Regions from separate parts of the Homo sapiens genome. Here all the other regions are linked to region 1. The links are contacts of gene promoters, found by promoter capture Hi-C in blood cells and fetal thymus (Javierre and others, 2016). All regions are on one chromosome and are shown on one strand. The core of a region is centred on a gene start or on the middle of the fragment in contact, and the rest is flanking DNA. Distances in the headings are between cores, read along the strand shown. Region 1 holds the start of MCEE (methylmalonyl-CoA epimerase). Region 2 holds the start of ALMS1 (ALMS1 centrosome and basal body associated protein). Region 3 overlaps EGR4 (early growth response 4). Region 4 overlaps CCT7 (chaperonin containing TCP1 subunit 7). Region 5 holds the start of SMYD5 (SMYD family member 5).

What was found. Contacts are between HindIII fragments. The CHiCAGO score rates a contact against its expected background, and 5 or more counts as called.
Region 2: the fragment with the promoter of ALMS1 here is called in contact with the fragment with the promoter of MCEE in region 1 in 6 of 17 cell types (fetal thymus, total CD8 T cells, total B cells and 3 more); the score reaches 8.5 in fetal thymus.
Region 3: a fragment that was not itself captured here is called in contact with the fragment with the promoter of MCEE in region 1 in 1 of 17 cell types (naive CD8 T cells); the score reaches 6.0 in naive CD8 T cells.
Region 4: a contact is called between a fragment that was not itself captured here and the fragment with the promoter of MCEE in region 1, in 1 of 17 cell types (total CD8 T cells). The highest score is 6.3, in total CD8 T cells.
Region 5: a contact is called between the fragment with the promoter of SMYD5 here and the fragment with the promoter of MCEE in region 1, in 1 of 17 cell types (total B cells). The highest score is 5.2, in total B cells.

What each region holds. Positions count from the first base shown.
Region 1 is chr2:71,128,700-71,131,595 of GRCh38, forward strand. It overlaps MCEE (methylmalonyl-CoA epimerase), which reads right to left and starts at 1,530. Exons shown (of 3, transcript NM_032601.4): 1 at 1,481-1,530. The coding sequence starts at 1,520. MPHOSPH10 (M-phase phosphoprotein 10) reads left to right here and starts at 1,935. Exons shown (of 11, transcript NM_005791.3): 1 at 1,935-2,055. The coding sequence starts at 1,967. RefSeq lists enhancers at 753-1,611, 1,933-1,982, 2,083-2,132. The HindIII fragment of the contact is 1,939 bases long and covers 360-2,298 here.
Region 2 is chr2:73,384,456-73,387,351 of GRCh38, forward strand. ALMS1 (ALMS1 centrosome and basal body associated protein) reads left to right here and starts at 1,381. Exons shown (of 23, transcript NM_001378454.1): 1 at 1,381-1,737. The coding sequence starts at 1,414. It overlaps LOC105374804 (a long non-coding RNA gene), which reads right to left and starts at 1,226. Exons shown (of 4, transcript XR_007087053.1): 1 at 998-1,226. RefSeq lists enhancers at 1,140-1,889, 1,930-2,169 and silencers at 1,140-1,539, 1,700-1,869. The HindIII fragment of the contact is 2,912 bases long and covers 1-2,810 here.
Region 3 is chr2:73,288,981-73,291,876 of GRCh38, forward strand. It overlaps EGR4 (early growth response 4), which reads right to left. Exons shown (of 2, transcript NM_001965.4): 2 at 1,949-2,896. The coding sequence ends at 2,477. Among named protein-coding and RNA genes, the nearest start is that of EGR4, 3.1 kb to the right of the region's middle. RefSeq lists an enhancer at 2,159-2,854. The HindIII fragment of the contact is 968 bases long and covers 983-1,950 here.
Region 4 is chr2:73,237,233-73,240,128 of GRCh38, forward strand. CCT7 (chaperonin containing TCP1 subunit 7) reads left to right here. Exons shown (of 12, transcript NM_006429.4): 2 at 2,411-2,564. Among named protein-coding and RNA genes, the nearest start is that of CCT7, 4.4 kb to the left of the region's middle. The HindIII fragment of the contact is 760 bases long and covers 1,007-1,766 here.
Region 5 is chr2:73,212,800-73,215,695 of GRCh38, forward strand. SMYD5 (SMYD family member 5) reads left to right here and starts at 1,446. Exons shown (of 13, transcript NM_006062.3): 1 at 1,446-1,563. The coding sequence starts at 1,468. RefSeq lists enhancers at 1,302-1,596, 1,384-1,623. The HindIII fragment of the contact is 7,894 bases long and covers 71-2,896 here.

The DNA of each region.
Region 1 (2,896 bases), core at 280-2,779:
TTGTATTTTTAGTAGAGACGGGCTCACGCCTGTAATCCCAGCACTTTGGGAAGACGAGGTGGGCAGATCACCTGAGGCCAGGAGTTCCAAACCAGCCTGGCCAACATGGTGAAATCTCGTCTCCACTAAAAATGCAAAAAATTAGCCGGGCGTGGTGCCGGGTGCCTGTAATCCCAGCTACTCGGGAGGCTGAGGCGGAAGAATGGCTTGAACCTGGGAGGCAGAGGTTGCAGTGAGCTAACGCCACTGCACTCCAGCCTGGGCGACAGAGTGAGACTCTGTCTCAAAAAAAAAAAAAAAGGTAAATTTTACTTTATGTATATTCAACCACACACACACACACACAAGTGGAGACATTAAGCTTCAAGTATCTTAATAGGACAAATCAAAGGCAATCTTTGGAATACACTGTCTTCATTTTTCCTTTATGCCAAGATGTGTATGTAAGTACAAAACAAACATGCACCTTTATCTGTATTGAGTTCTTGCAGTATGTATATGACCTGTTGGAAGTCATACTTTTTCCCAAACTGTCAATCATTAAAGTGTGCAGTTCTAAAAATAGACATAAAAATGCCTTTTCCCAAATATTCATTTATTTATAGTTTTACGTTCCTATCTTGTGTATCACCTAAGAGGAAGGTATGCCTTACGGTTAAGAATGTGGGCTCTGGTGCTAGAAGGATTTATCACGAATGTCCCGGAGTAACTCTGGGGCATTACCACTTGGCACCTTCTTCCTAATAGGGAATCTCAGATTAAGGGAAATACTTGCCCTCTCATAAAAGGAGGAAGAGAAAAAAAAAAAGGATAAAAAGAGGAGAAAGTGAGTCAGAAAACGTGACAATTATTACAGTTATTTCTGTCATAACTGATTCTATGTACATATTTTAAAAAAAATGAAGGGGGAGAGAACTCAAGAAAGTTTCCAAATCCACATGCTTTTATCTGTGTACGCGATAAATATATTAGTGCACGTGGAAAAACCACTCCTTTTGTATTCTTTACACCACTGACCTTTGAGTGTTCCCAACAGAAAGCTGGTCACGCTTGGAGTTCGGCCGACTAGTAGTTGTTGTTTTTACGGAACGTGCTCTCCTTTCTGGTTTCTCCCCAGTCTCTTTATTGGTGCGCGGTAAAATAACTTACCGATCCGCTTCTATTTACTTCTGTCCCTGCCCTGCCTGACCTGCCGGGCAAGTTCCCTCGACTCTCCCGCCCACATACTGGAAGGTGCAGAGCCCAAGGCGCACAGCTCTCGGATGGAAATGGGACTCATGCACAAGGCAATCCCCGCTACTAAGCGGTGGCGCTTCTGGAAGGCACCCTCTGCCTAAGTGACAGCAGCTGCTGTGGAACGCGCCCCCGGGGGAGGACATTAGATCAAGGTGCTTTGGCCACGCCGAGGCCTCCTCCGCCCCCGACCGCCGTTCCCACGCTCCCTGTCCCATGGCGAAGGTCGCCGGTGCCCGGTATTCACCTACGGCATTCGCGGCTGCAGCCTTCAGCACCCGCGCCATTTTGGAAAGCAACCCGCCACGTCAAGACTAGCCACGGAGGTTGAGAGACGCGCGGCAGAGGGCGGGGCGGGAGGCAGAGGGGGCGGGGACAGAAAGGTCAGGGGCGTGGCGAAGGTCGCTGCTTTCCTGCTACAACGGGCCTACTTTAGCTAAAACAGAAACGTAAGGCCAGGACGGGTCACCCTTTGTGGGCCCCTGAAAAATACAAAACGAAGTTTGGAGAGAGTTGAAAGGCGTTTGGGCTGACCATGGAGATTTTTGTTTCCCACCCTCCTGCGAAAGCGCTCGCGCTGCCATTGGCTCTGGCTGAGGGCGAGTCCGGAACCTGTGCGCCGCGGAACTTTCGGCTCTGAAATCCAAGTTGCGCTGGGCGCATCTTTGCCGCGCGGTTTCCGGGCGGCTCCCTTCCCTTGCATGCTGCATTGTGTCGGGAGTTGCTGACAGCCATGGCGCCGCAGGTCTGGCGTCGACGGACCCTGGAGCGGTGTCTGACGGAAGTCGGCAAAGCCACGGGTCGGCCCGAGTGCTTCCTCACGTAAGTGCGCAGATCCCGGGCTCGGGGTGCGACCGGGGTCTCACGTGGACGCGGGTTGCAGGCCTCCGGCAAATTGTGGAGCTGGGGGAAGGTAAGGGGAAACGTAAAATCGCTTTTCCCCAAATTTCAGAGTTTATGCTTTCCTAGGCTATCAAAATTTTAAAAACTGTTAAAATTTGTATAGATGGATCTCTCAGTTGAGTGTTACTGAAATCACTCTAACCTCAATTGTTAACACCTAGAAGCTTCCCTTGGGCTTCTTACGCCCCCATCCCTCTACACACAGACTGTTGGTTTCTCCTTCCTCCTATGTGCTCTCAAAGCACTTAGCGCTTAGCATACTTTATTGAAAGTACGAACTTGTCACTTGTCTGTCCACCCCCCATGACTAAGCTTCTTCAGAAATAGAACTTCCATGTCTCTTCCCAACACAAGCGTTTTATATGTATTTTGTTGAAGAATTTAAAATGTGATCTATGAAATTATTACTCATTTATGTTTCAAACCCCAACCTTTCCCTGAGTTCCCAGCTCACAGCAACTACAGACTGAGCTTAGTTTGAATTCCGTAGCACACAACTGGGATATCCACACTGTACAACTTTTAACGATTTTTAAAATTTTGGTACTGTCAAGCATCTCAAATTCACTGCGTCCAAAATAGAGCTGTTGTGTCTGTTTAATAGAATTGTTGTTTCTACCCACCTATACTCTGCCATCCCCTGAAGTCCTTTTCCCATGCTACACCTGTCAAGCGCGTCTGTGTGAAGAGACCACTAAAACAGGCTTTGTGTGAGCCACAAGGCTGTTTATTCACTTGGGTGCAAGTGGGCTGAGTCCGA
Region 2 (2,896 bases), core at 131-2,630, 2.3 Mb after region 1:
CTATTACAGTAATAGGTCTCCGGCAAGGAGAACCCCTAAACCCCTTAAGAATAAATAACCCTAATGTACTCATAGTCCATTTAGAGGTGTTCAACAGAACTCCAAGACTGGGCTCCAGTTCATGTTCTACCCTTAAAGTTTTGCCAGGATTGGGTCATTGACAGGTAGGCAGGACATACATCCTTGGCAATAACCCTAAAATTGCCCCACCAACATTGGTTCAGCATCATTATCAATGTATCTCTACTATTGTGGGTAATACCATGAAGACTTTTTGCTGGACTCCACTTTAATTATGGCTATTTCCTTTGGTAACAGTGAAGCATCTCAAGATTATAATTATTATTTAAAATTTTAATTTAAAAATTTTCCCCATAGGTTATTGGGGGTACAGGTGGTGTCTGGTTACATGGCATCTTAAGATACTTTAATTTGCCATTCATTTCGTAGAGGTTCCTGAAGCGGTCAGGAAATCTTTGTTTTTAAAGCACTCCAAAGTCATTGACGAACCACCAAAACATATGTACTATCAGTATAAATATTTGCTCTGTTATCCTTTAACAGCTGGTTGGTCTAGGCCAGGGCAATTCCTACACTAACAGAGGACCTGGGATGGCATACTGAGTCAGCCACTTACTAGGTAAGAAACTTTGGGCAAATTAATTTTTTTAGCCTCAGATTCTTCATACATGAAATAGTAATACTTGTCTCACAGAACCGTGAGCATCTAATGAGTTATTGTACAATAACCAACCTATCACTAAGTCCTTCACATTGATTATTTCCTTTAATTATCACACCCATCCTATGCGATGGCCTATTATCATCGTTTTATAAACACAAAGTCACACCACTTTAAGTGGTGATGCCAGGATTCAAACTCCGATCTTTCTGATGCCAGTGCCCAGTTCTTAATCCCTCTAACAACCCGTGACACTTTTCCACGGTTAGGTTCAAGCGCCCACCATACAGCTTGACACTTTAGGAGATACTCAACCTTTAAAACTTTATAATTTGCATGTGTGATTATAACGGGTACGTCCTAGAGTTTGATCTCTTCTCTGTGCAGGGGCGAAACTCGACCCCAGCCGAGAACTACACTGTCCTTGCGCGGGGCCCTCTGCGCCCCGGAAGGCGCCCAGTCCCGGTTTATTGTGAGCTTACAGTACAGTTCGCAAGGTCCCGGCCGGTGACGGCGGCGAGGCGGCAACGTCGCCTGTAGCAAACCTCCGCCCTAAGGCGTTCCCGCCGGGCCTCGCGCGGCGTCCCTAGCAACGCGCGCGCGGTCTTCCGGCCCCGCCCAGGCGGGCGGCACTGCGCCTAAGCTGGGCCACAACCGCCAGTCAGGGCTCTCCCCTTCCCCTCCCTCCCCCCCTCCTCCTCCTCCTCTGCCGCCCAGAGCGAGACACCAACATGGAGCCCGAGGATCTGCCATGGCCGGGCGAGCTGGAGGAGGAGGAGGAGGAGGAGGAGGAGGAGGAGGAGGAAGAGGAGGAGGCTGCAGCGGCGGCGGCGGCGAACGTGGACGACGTAGTGGTCGTGGAGGAGGTGGAGGAAGAGGCGGGGCGGGAGTTGGACTCCGACTCTCACTACGGGCCCCAGCATCTGGAAAGTATAGACGACGAGGAGGACGAGGAGGCCAAGGCCTGGCTGCAGGCGCACCCCGGCAGGATTTTGCCTCCGCTGTCGCCCCCGCAGCACCGCTACTCGGAGGGCGAGCGGACCTCCCTGGAGAAGGTGAGGCGGGCCGGGGAGGGGTGTGGAGCCGCGGCGAGTTGGGGGTGGAGGCTGGGCCCCGAGCGCTCCGCCCGCCCGCAGGTCACGCCGCCTGACGGAGAAAACGCGCGCAGCTGAGGCTAGTAGGCGGCCCAGACTCCAGCCCAGGTGCCGGCCGGCTGCTCCGCGTCTCCCAGGCTTTGTGGCAAAGACTTCTCGTTTCCTCCCCCTCGGTGGGTCCTGGGCCTTTTGAACTCCCGTAGACGTTCAGGGGAGCCTGCATTCCCCGTGAGAAACGCTGAGAGAGGACCACGGGTGTGTCGAGCCTTGAAGGAGGGAAAAGGCGGTGTAGGACCGGAGCGAGTGGTTGCCTGGGGAGCATCTTGTTGGGGAGACAGTGAACAGATGAGCTTGACTGAATTGCAGGACTCCCCTGAGGGAGTAATGTGGATAATGTACACCGCGCGATCACTTAGTCTGGAGAGGCTCCCCGCGGGTTTTCCTCCCCTGGACCATCATTTGTAGCAATAAAGGGGTTCCCCAGCCGATAGGAGGGGCTTGGAATGCAGGAGGCTTGTGATGCGGCTCCAAACAGTCTGCAAAACTACAAAGCACAGATAATACACAATGGAGAAAGCCGATTTCATGGTAGACCCCCGAAGATCATTTTGAAAATAACTCTCCATTTAATTTGCTGCCCTTACCCCCCTTTTTTTAACTTACTGCTTTTCGAGGAGCAAGACCTGCCCTGCTCAGTACAGTAGCCACTGGCCACGTGTGGCTTTTTACATCTTAAAGAGAAAACTATTATAGTTTTGAGTAAGAGTTAAAAATAAATTAAATGAAAAATTCCATGCGTCTGTTCTTACCGGTTTTCAAGTGCTCAGCAGCCACACTAGGCTAGTGGCTACCATGTTGGACAGAGCAGATAATGGAACAGTTCCATCATCACAGACAGTGAAGGTGTAGAGTTTTGTCACTAATGAGCAGTAGTTGTTGTTTTGTCTGGTGAATATTCCAGGGGGTACTTAATTCATTGAACATGTATTATTAGAATTCACCATGTGCCACACATTGTGCTGGGTGCTAAGGAAAGCTTGGTGAACCCAAACATTTTTGGTCTCTGCCTTCCTTGTGTTCATGGTCTAGACAGGGAGGCAGACAGATTTCAGATGATCAC
Region 3 (2,896 bases), core at 217-2,716, 2.2 Mb after region 1:
TTCCATCTCTAGTCTAATATTCTCATCCCTCACAATCCCTAGGGGAAGCTCCAATAAATGGGAGCAGTGTCCCTTGGGACATAGCAGGAACTTCTCAGCTAGGAGTTATAGAGCCAGACTGGGCTCTGGTACCAGGACTACTACTAAGTCACTTCTTTGGGGTTCAATTTTCTCATCAGTGATGTTAGGCCTAGGTGGGTGTGAGGATAAGAATAATAGAGCTGATGGCACTTGCTGGAATGCTGCTGGAGAGGGCAAGATAGGGGTGATCAGAGGCCAGCCACCCACTGTCTGCGTTTCCTCCTTTGTTCAGCTTGTGTGTTTTGGGACCAGTTGCTTGAAATATGGGCCATTATGCTTTTCTTGCCCTACTCTTCATGAAAAGTGAAGTCAGGTGGCCCATGCCTAATAAGTGAAAGGTGTGGTGACTTAAATAGTAAGACAATGAGGGTCATGATTATCTTGTGTCTCCATGAATCTACCACTTATCACAGTGCCTGACAGTCCACAATTTGAGCCTCTTCATTGGGTTAAACATTGCCCTCTGCAGGCTACTGTTCTAAAATGTTAATTCTCCTAGAAGAGGTAATATTAAATCCTTTACCACAAATTAGTTTCTTAGATACAAGATACTTGGCCACATGAAAGCACTTAAAACCTAGGGAGAGAAAAGGATGGAATTCTCTGAGTTGATCATTTTGTCTCTGGTCAGCTGGACTGTGGGGTGGAGGGTGAGCATATCTTAGAGTGAAGGAGTGAAGAAAGCAGCAAGAGTATCAGAAGCTGGTTTGATCTGGCATCATAGGGCTGTAAGGTCTCTTAATTCAAGAACAGCTCAGCTCAGAAGAGAAAACAATGAAGTCCTCAGACACAGGCCTTCTTTCTTCCTTATCAGAGAGGGGTCATTGGAGCAGAGAGATGGAGAGCACAGCGGCCTTTTTATGCTCCAAGGTCTGCCCAAGGTGGCCAGAAAGAGTGGAAAAGCTTTGGGTGGGGAGTTCAAAGAGTAAAAAGGGGCCACCTTCACCATTACAAGGTCATGCTTTCCTCATCACCCTCCTAGCCTTCCTCTGATCCCAAAGCCATGAAGAGTTCACTTGGAAGGACAGCTGGAGAAAAGTGGCTGTGGCAGGCGCATGGCTGAATGGTAAGTAGGCTGATGCCACCTGGAGAAGATCCTTTTTGTGGGAAGAGCAACTAAGGTGACCATCAGTCTCTGGCAAGTGCCTGCTCCCAGCTATATTCAGGTGTGCTCTAGCTAAATGCTGAGACCCTTTGGGTCCTGACATCATGTGACTCTTGAACAGATGCATAGATACTGTCTGGAGCCTCTGTGACACTGAACACTCTGGGCTTTCACAAACAGCACCAAAATACTGCAGCCTTTTGCTGTTGTCGCTACTGCCTGGAGCTCCCTCTAGCTGCCAAACCTGTTTCTCACCTTCTGGTAGGAAGCCTTTCCAATCAGTGCTATTAAGTTTAGGTGTCTCCATTCTGGGGTTGGAAAATGAGGGTTGGCTTTGAAGTTGGACAGATTTGTTTGACCTGTCTGTTCCTAGCCTGGGTTAACTACATTGTTCCAGCAAGCTATCTACATTGCTTCCACATCTTTGAAATGAGGTATATGCCTGCTTTATTTGGGAATGCGAGGATTAAGGAGAATAATATATACATAATGTTGAACACCTACGCCTTTTAACCACTTTGAAGTTCCAGAAACACCTCCAGCCCTTAGGTGAGCTGTGATTAAATTCGTTCATTAACCCAACACACATTTACTGAATGCCTACTCTGTGCCGCAGTTCCTGGCAGGTGTGCCTGACAGTGGGTGTGTAATATGTTCAGGGTCTGTATCCCATGAGCGTGGGGATCTCCTTTATCTTCTGGCACATATGGTCCTGGGGGAGAAGCTAAGGGGAAGGGTCAGGAGCTTACATGGCAGATTCAGTAAGCTTTTAGCACAATAATTTTAATTGCAAAAATAAACAGTTTTGTCAACTGCTTGAGAGTAGCGTCTGCTTTACAAAAATTAACAACAACAAAAGGAAAAAAAACCCAAAGCAAAACGTTACATCCAATGGCTGCTGGATAAGACACTGCTGTACAAAGTCCCGCGCGAGACCGCCTTGGCGCTGCCCCAGCCTGTCTCTGGGGGTTATAGAGGAAGGCGTGGGGCGTGTGCCAGTTACAAAAGACTGTCTTGAATCCCAGGGTAGTGCCTATTCACTGGGTGGTCTCAGAAGACTTCCCCCAAAGCGCGGCTGACAAGGGTGACAGCGCCTGGACCGCGGGAACTGTCCGCGGAGCTGGTGCTGAATAGGGCGTGTGCGGCGGGCGCTTCAAGGAAACTGGAAGCGGGACCGGAGGCCGGCCCTCGGGCGTGCGAGGAGGAGTTGGAAGAAGAGCGGGGAGGGGAACGGCCCGGAACTCGTGCGCGCCGAACGGCGGCGCCCCAACCCATAAACCCATCTCTTGCTCAGAGAGAAGCGAAGGAGAGGCCCAGCGAGTAAAAGCCGAGGCCCTTGAGCCGCTCCTCGGCGCGCGCCTTCTGCTTGAGGTGCACCTTGCTGTGCCGTTTCTTCTCATCGCTGCGCGCGAAGCGGCGGCCGCACACGTCGCAAGCAAAAGGCTTCTCGCCGGTGTGGGTGCGCACGTGCGTGGTGAGGTGGTCGCTGCGGCTGAAGTTGCGGAGGCAGATGCGGCACTGGAAGGGTTTGTGGCCCGTGTGGATGCGCAGGTGGCGATTGAGCTCGTCGGAGCGCGCAAAGCTCCGCACACAACTCTCCACCGGGCAAGCGAAGGCCTTGGCGTGCGGCCGCGGGCAGAAGCAGCGCGTGCTGCATTTGCCGCCGCGGCGCCCCTTGCGTCGCGCCTTGGCCTGGGGGAAAGGGGTGGG
Region 4 (2,896 bases), core at 137-2,636, 2.1 Mb after region 1:
TCTGAGGAATTGGTGGCCTGGTGGTGAGAAAGTGGTTTTGGTAGAAGATGGCAGAGTGACTATTTTAGATGGGGGTACACTTTGCAGGTTGAGGTGAGAAAAAGTATACACAAGCATTGGGTAAGTTAACCTGTTGAGGTGAAAGAACCTGTTGAAGGTGATAGGAAGTGATTGAGACTCATGTTAGTTTTTGATTTAAAGTGTAAGACTCCATCCGTGGCAGGGGTGGACCAGAGAAGACTTGGGGCTGCCATAAGGAATGATTTAGCAAGACTGGGAGATGGTAGGGCCTTTCAGGACACACATCTTTCCCTTACAGAAGGTGCCAGGGACTGGGCCAGCTGAAGAGCCAGAAAGAATGCTGGGAGTATAGAGAAGCCATTTCTTGCCACCAGACCTGGGACACTCCAGCAAAAGGAAGGAATTTTCCCTTCAGTTGACGCCTGATCCCAAATGTAGGGGTTTACATGACAAGCATTCTTTTTAAAATAAAAAATAAAAGGAGTAATGTATGATTATTTGACAAGCATTTAAAAAAATTTAATGAGGGCCTGGCATGGTGCCTCATGCCTGTAATCCTAGCACTTCAGAAGGCTGAGGCAGGAGGGTTGTTAGAGGCCAGGAGTTGGAGACCAGCCTGGGCAACATTTTTTAAATACAAATTTAAAAAATTAGCCAGGTGTGGTACCTCATGCATTGCGGTCCAGCTACTCAGGAGGCTTGAGCTTATAGTAAGCTATGATCTCACCACTGCACTCCAGCATGGGTGGTGGAGCAAGACCCTGTCTCTTAGAAATATATATTAAAAAATGAATAATATATTAAATTACTCCCACTCTCTTATTCCGTAGAGTTTATTGGGTATTTTTCGTTTTCTTTTTGTAGAGACAGGGTCTTGCCATGTTCCCCAGGCTGGTCTTGAACTCCATGAGCTCAAGTGATCCTCTTTTTTCTACAGTGGTTTTTGTTTTTTATGTAAATCACAGTATGCCATTCCTCTGCTGAAAGCTTCCCAGGGCTTTCCTTTTTAGGAATGAAATCTGAACTCCTCACCATAGTGTGTCTACGAGTGTGTATGTGATCTGGTTCCTGCCTGCCTCTTCAGCTTTATTCCAGTCTTCCTCTTGCTTACTACCCTCCAGCTGCGCTGGCCAAAAGAGTTGAACTTTTTAAGGAATTGACCAGTTAATAAGGAATCAGCCTCATGAGTGGCAAGACTCTGTCTTTGGCAGGAATTCCTCACTCCTCATTGTTAGGTTGGGAAAGCTCTGTGCTTTCCTGTGCCTTCCTTGCTCAGACATCCACGTACCTCTAAGGACTAGGTGATGGCTTTCAAACTTTTTATTGCATTCCACAGTAAGAAATACATTTTTAATCATAGCCTAGTAACAAATTTAACACAATAAAAGTTTTGAAATAGTATTTATCCTTACTACATTCTGTGTCACACACAAAATTAGCCAGAAACACTTGAGAAGACTGGATCTAGTTCGTGGGCTTATCTCTGAAGGCTCAGATTTGAATGTGGAGAGAAAGTAGTCTGGTTTGCTAAGCTGAGAAATTGCTCTCTCTGCTAATAATGGTGGTCACTAGAGCAAAGATATCTGAGCGGGCCCTTTAAAACAAGCAAGTATCCCTGTTTCTCAGTTTCTAAAGCAGGTCTGCAAATGAAGCCCTTACGGGGATAGGGAATGTTCTGGAGACCAATGCAATATAGAAAGAGGAAAACTTCTTTGGGGTATCTGATTGGAAATTAGTCACACAGAAGCTTTATTCAGCCAGCATGAGAGATGGAAACATTGCTGTATGAATTAGATTTGCCATCATTTTTCAAAACAGGGCAAAGGTGCTGTTTGTTTCTCTGCCTGTTTTCCTACACTGCAGCTGAACATCACTGTTACATAAAGCTGACTGCCTAGGCATCTCTAGGACAACACCTCAAGCTCTTGGCATCTTGCATTTTGCATCAGTGTCCCATCTGCTTCTCTAAGATTGAGCTGTAACACAGACAAGTGGATGTTTTGCTGCGGAATGAACACTTAGCAGGGTCTGCCTCTTCCTCCTGTGTTGTGACCCAATTCCTCAGCACAGGGAGTAAGGTCAGAAGTTGAAAAGGCCATGGTCATTCAGCTGGGTACTGGAGAACTCATGATTTTTTCTTTTAGATTAGGTCAGTGCTTCTCAAACCATTTTCCTGTCTAGCATACCTGCAGGGTAGGCTAAATTTGATAGTGTCTCTGGAGGTAGAGGCTGGTTGGGGAATGGATGTGGTAGACAGTTGGGGGAATGTGGTTTAAGAAGACCTCTAGATAATTCTGTTAAGGGAGAGATGGGAGCATTTTCCCCTTTCCCCTGCCAGTCTCATTATAATAGATGATTATTAAAAGCAGTTAATTTCTTTCTTTTCTAGCCCACACCAGTTATCCTATTGAAAGAGGGGACTGATAGCTCCCAAGGCATCCCCCAGCTTGTGAGTAACATCAGTGCCTGCCAGGTGATTGCTGAGGCTGTAAGAACTACCCTGGGTCCCCGTGGCATGGACAAGCTTATTGTAGATGGCAGAGGTAAGTCTACAGAGTTCCTCAGGCCTGTGTGCAGGAAAGGAGGCTCCTGAGGGGGTGTTTGGGACTAGCATAGGTTGGTATCAGAAATCCCACTGCTTTTAAGATCGTTGAAAGATGACTCACTCTGAAGCAGTTCCAATTCTTATATTGTCCTGACTGCTGAGCCCGTGTGGGACTATATGAGAGAACCTAGGCTCAGGAGCCTGTTGCCTCATAGGGAGACGTGGCCTAGAAACATGAAATAGAACCATCTGGAGTTTCCTGTGTTCACTTCCATTGTTATCAAGATGAGAAAATTCCTGTTTATATCTTGGTATATTAATTGATGTGTG
Region 5 (2,896 bases), core at 196-2,695, 2.1 Mb after region 1:
TTCTCTGGCCCTGCCAACTATCTATCTCCCCCAAGTCCGTGGACTATTCGCTCCTTGACACCAGGTTGCAAGCTTGAGGAGAGGCAGGGTCAGTTTCAAGAACCTTTCTCTGTCCCTGCCAACTATCTATCTATCTATAATTATTTGATAGATAATTGTGGCTTGATCACGGCTCATTGCAGTCTAGACCTCCCCAGGTTCAGGTGATCCTCCCACGCATCACCACGCCCGGCAAATTTTTCTATTTTTTGGAGAGACAAGGTCTCACTACGTTGCCCAGTCTGTTCTTGAGCCCGGGAGCTGGAGGCTGCCGTGAGCCGAGATCGCCCCATGCCAGTATGGGCGACAAAGCGAGACCCTGTCTCAAACAAAACTCACAAAATCAGGGGACAAGGAAACAAAACAAGGCTTGATAGTCAGGCCTAGCTGTGGGGACAAATGCCATAGGTCTGTGGTTTGCAGCTTCTTGGGGTCCTGAGAGAACAGGCCCCTCCCCCTTTTCACGACAGTGTGTGCATATGCACACTCACTTCTGTATCCAGTTTCAGAGGTTCTCAGATCTGAGGTCCCCTATGGACTCCTCCGCTACCCCCGGTTGCAAGGTCCCTAAGCCATTGAAGAATCTGACAGAGGCACAAGTCCACCCTGACCTTTGGCAGGACTGTTCTGCTGCCAGAGGGATTACCGAGAAAGGAAATCTTGTCCTGGACTCTTCAAGTGGGGTGAGTGAGCTCCGGGGTATAAGCTAGTCCTTCCCTTCAGGCTGAGAGCTAGACAGGATAGGAGTAAGTTGGCCTTCTGCTGTCCCACTCTAGGGCTGGGTCCAAAGAGCGCTTTACTCAGTGAAGACAGGCCACTGTGTGGACAGAGACAACATACATAGAAACATGCATCGGAGGCCGGGCGAGGTGGCTCACGCCTGTAATCCCAACACTTTAGGAGGTCGAGGCGGGCGGATCACTTGAGGTCAGGAGTTCGAGACCAGCCTGGCCAACATGGTGAAACCCCTAAAAATACAAAAATTAGCTGGGCTTAGTGGCGCACGCCTGTACGCCCAGCTACTCGGGAGGCTGAGGCAGGAGAATGAATCACTTGAACCTGGGAGGCAGAGGTTGCACTGAGCCGAGATCGCGCCACTGCACACCAGCCTGGGCGACAGAGTGAGACTATCTCAAAAAAAAAAAACCACAACAAAACATGCAACGGACTCAAAGATACACACATCAAAACTGTACGCGCACACAGACTCTGATACAGAGGTACAGACACAAAAAGGCACCGATGTAAAAGCACAAAGGCAGGCCCAGTTACACTCCCGTCAACAAACCACGGAACCTAAATTCAGACTTGGTGGAGCCCAAAACCTCGCAGCCTCAGGGGCACTCTCGCCGGGGGCGGGACCAGAAGGGGGTGTGGCCTCTCAGGTCGAGGCGGGGTTAAGGGTCATAAGGCGGAGGCGCGCCCAAGATGGCGGCCTCCATGTGCGACGTGTTCTCCTTCTGCGTGGGCGTGGCGGGCCGCGCGCGGGTCTCCGTGGAAGTCCGTTTCGTGAGCAGCGCCAAGGTGAGGTCGGGGCGGGTCCTGCCGGGAGCCTCTCCCCAGTCCGGCCATGGAGACAGCCCGGCCGGACTCCATGCCCGGAGCCCAGAGGCTTCTGTGCCGCTCGGACGCTACGGCCCTGCCCCTGCTCGCGGCCCGGGGGCTCCCAGTCTGTCCCTGCGCGCAGGCTCGTGGCGCGGTCACGCGATAGACCCGGGCCTCCGGAGTCTCCGTGCGCATTTCCTCCCAGCGGAATTCGGCCAGCCCGCGGGAGGCCCTTCTGTGGCTGCTCGGGGCGGGGCTAGGGGGCTTTGCTGCTGTATCCCTGGAACGGTGGGCGGGGATGTGCCGGGCAGAGAGAACTGAGGTGTAAAAGAGGGAGTCCTCACGAACTTCATGTGTGAGATTTGGGTGAGGGGATGAGGAGAGAGGCCAAGATCCTTCACGAGGGTCCTTGGAGTGCTGAGGAATTTGGACCAGAGTCCAAAGGCCGTGGGGGCATTGGGAGAGTTTTTAGCAGGAAGGTGACGTGATTTTGTCGTTTTTATTGTGTTCCAAAAGTTCATTGTAGAAAAAAATACAAAATGCATGTAAGGAAAGAAAATACAAAAATCACCCATACTTCTATACTTGTGCAAAGATGAGTACGTTAAAATTACATTTTTAGAAACTGCTTTTTGATGCAGCAGTGAATCTTTCAATATCAAGCCTATTTCTACATATTAAGTTTTAAGAGCTGAGTAGTAGCTTCTTCCGTGAGAGGGTCACAGTTCACTCAACCAACCCCTTATTAATGGACCCTTTATTGTTGTATGGTATTTTTCATCCCCAGAGTCAAAAGTCTTAGAGCTCATTTTCTGTGCAAACATCCTCTTGTTTTGTCCAGCAGTATTTTTTTCCTAGTTATCTTTGCCTATTGATATGTGTAAAATTATATTTGTTCTCATTTACGTTTCTTTGGTTACTAGTGAGGTTGAATAATTTATCCTGTGTAGTGGCTGTGTGTATGGTTGGTTCTTGCCCAAGACGTAAGACCTCTAGTTGTCTGTTGTCTGCTCTCAGCGTCATCATATTGATCTAGTTTTCCAGCTCAACCTTCCGTGCCCCCTTTCTGCTCTAGAGGTATCTGGAGCAGTTTGCTCCTTCCCTGGTAAATCAGCTTCCCTACATCCCTGGTCTCCTTACCTGTTCCTATCTCCATCTCCATAGTCTCTAGTGCTCCTGGGTGGCCACAGTTTGAAGGCCTCTCAGTTCCATCATTCTTGGTTTGCAGTGATATTCTTCACCTTTTTCTTCATTAGCCCCCAGTCTCTCAGCCCCTTCCTTTCTTCATTTCTTCCCTCTCGCTTCTTCACTT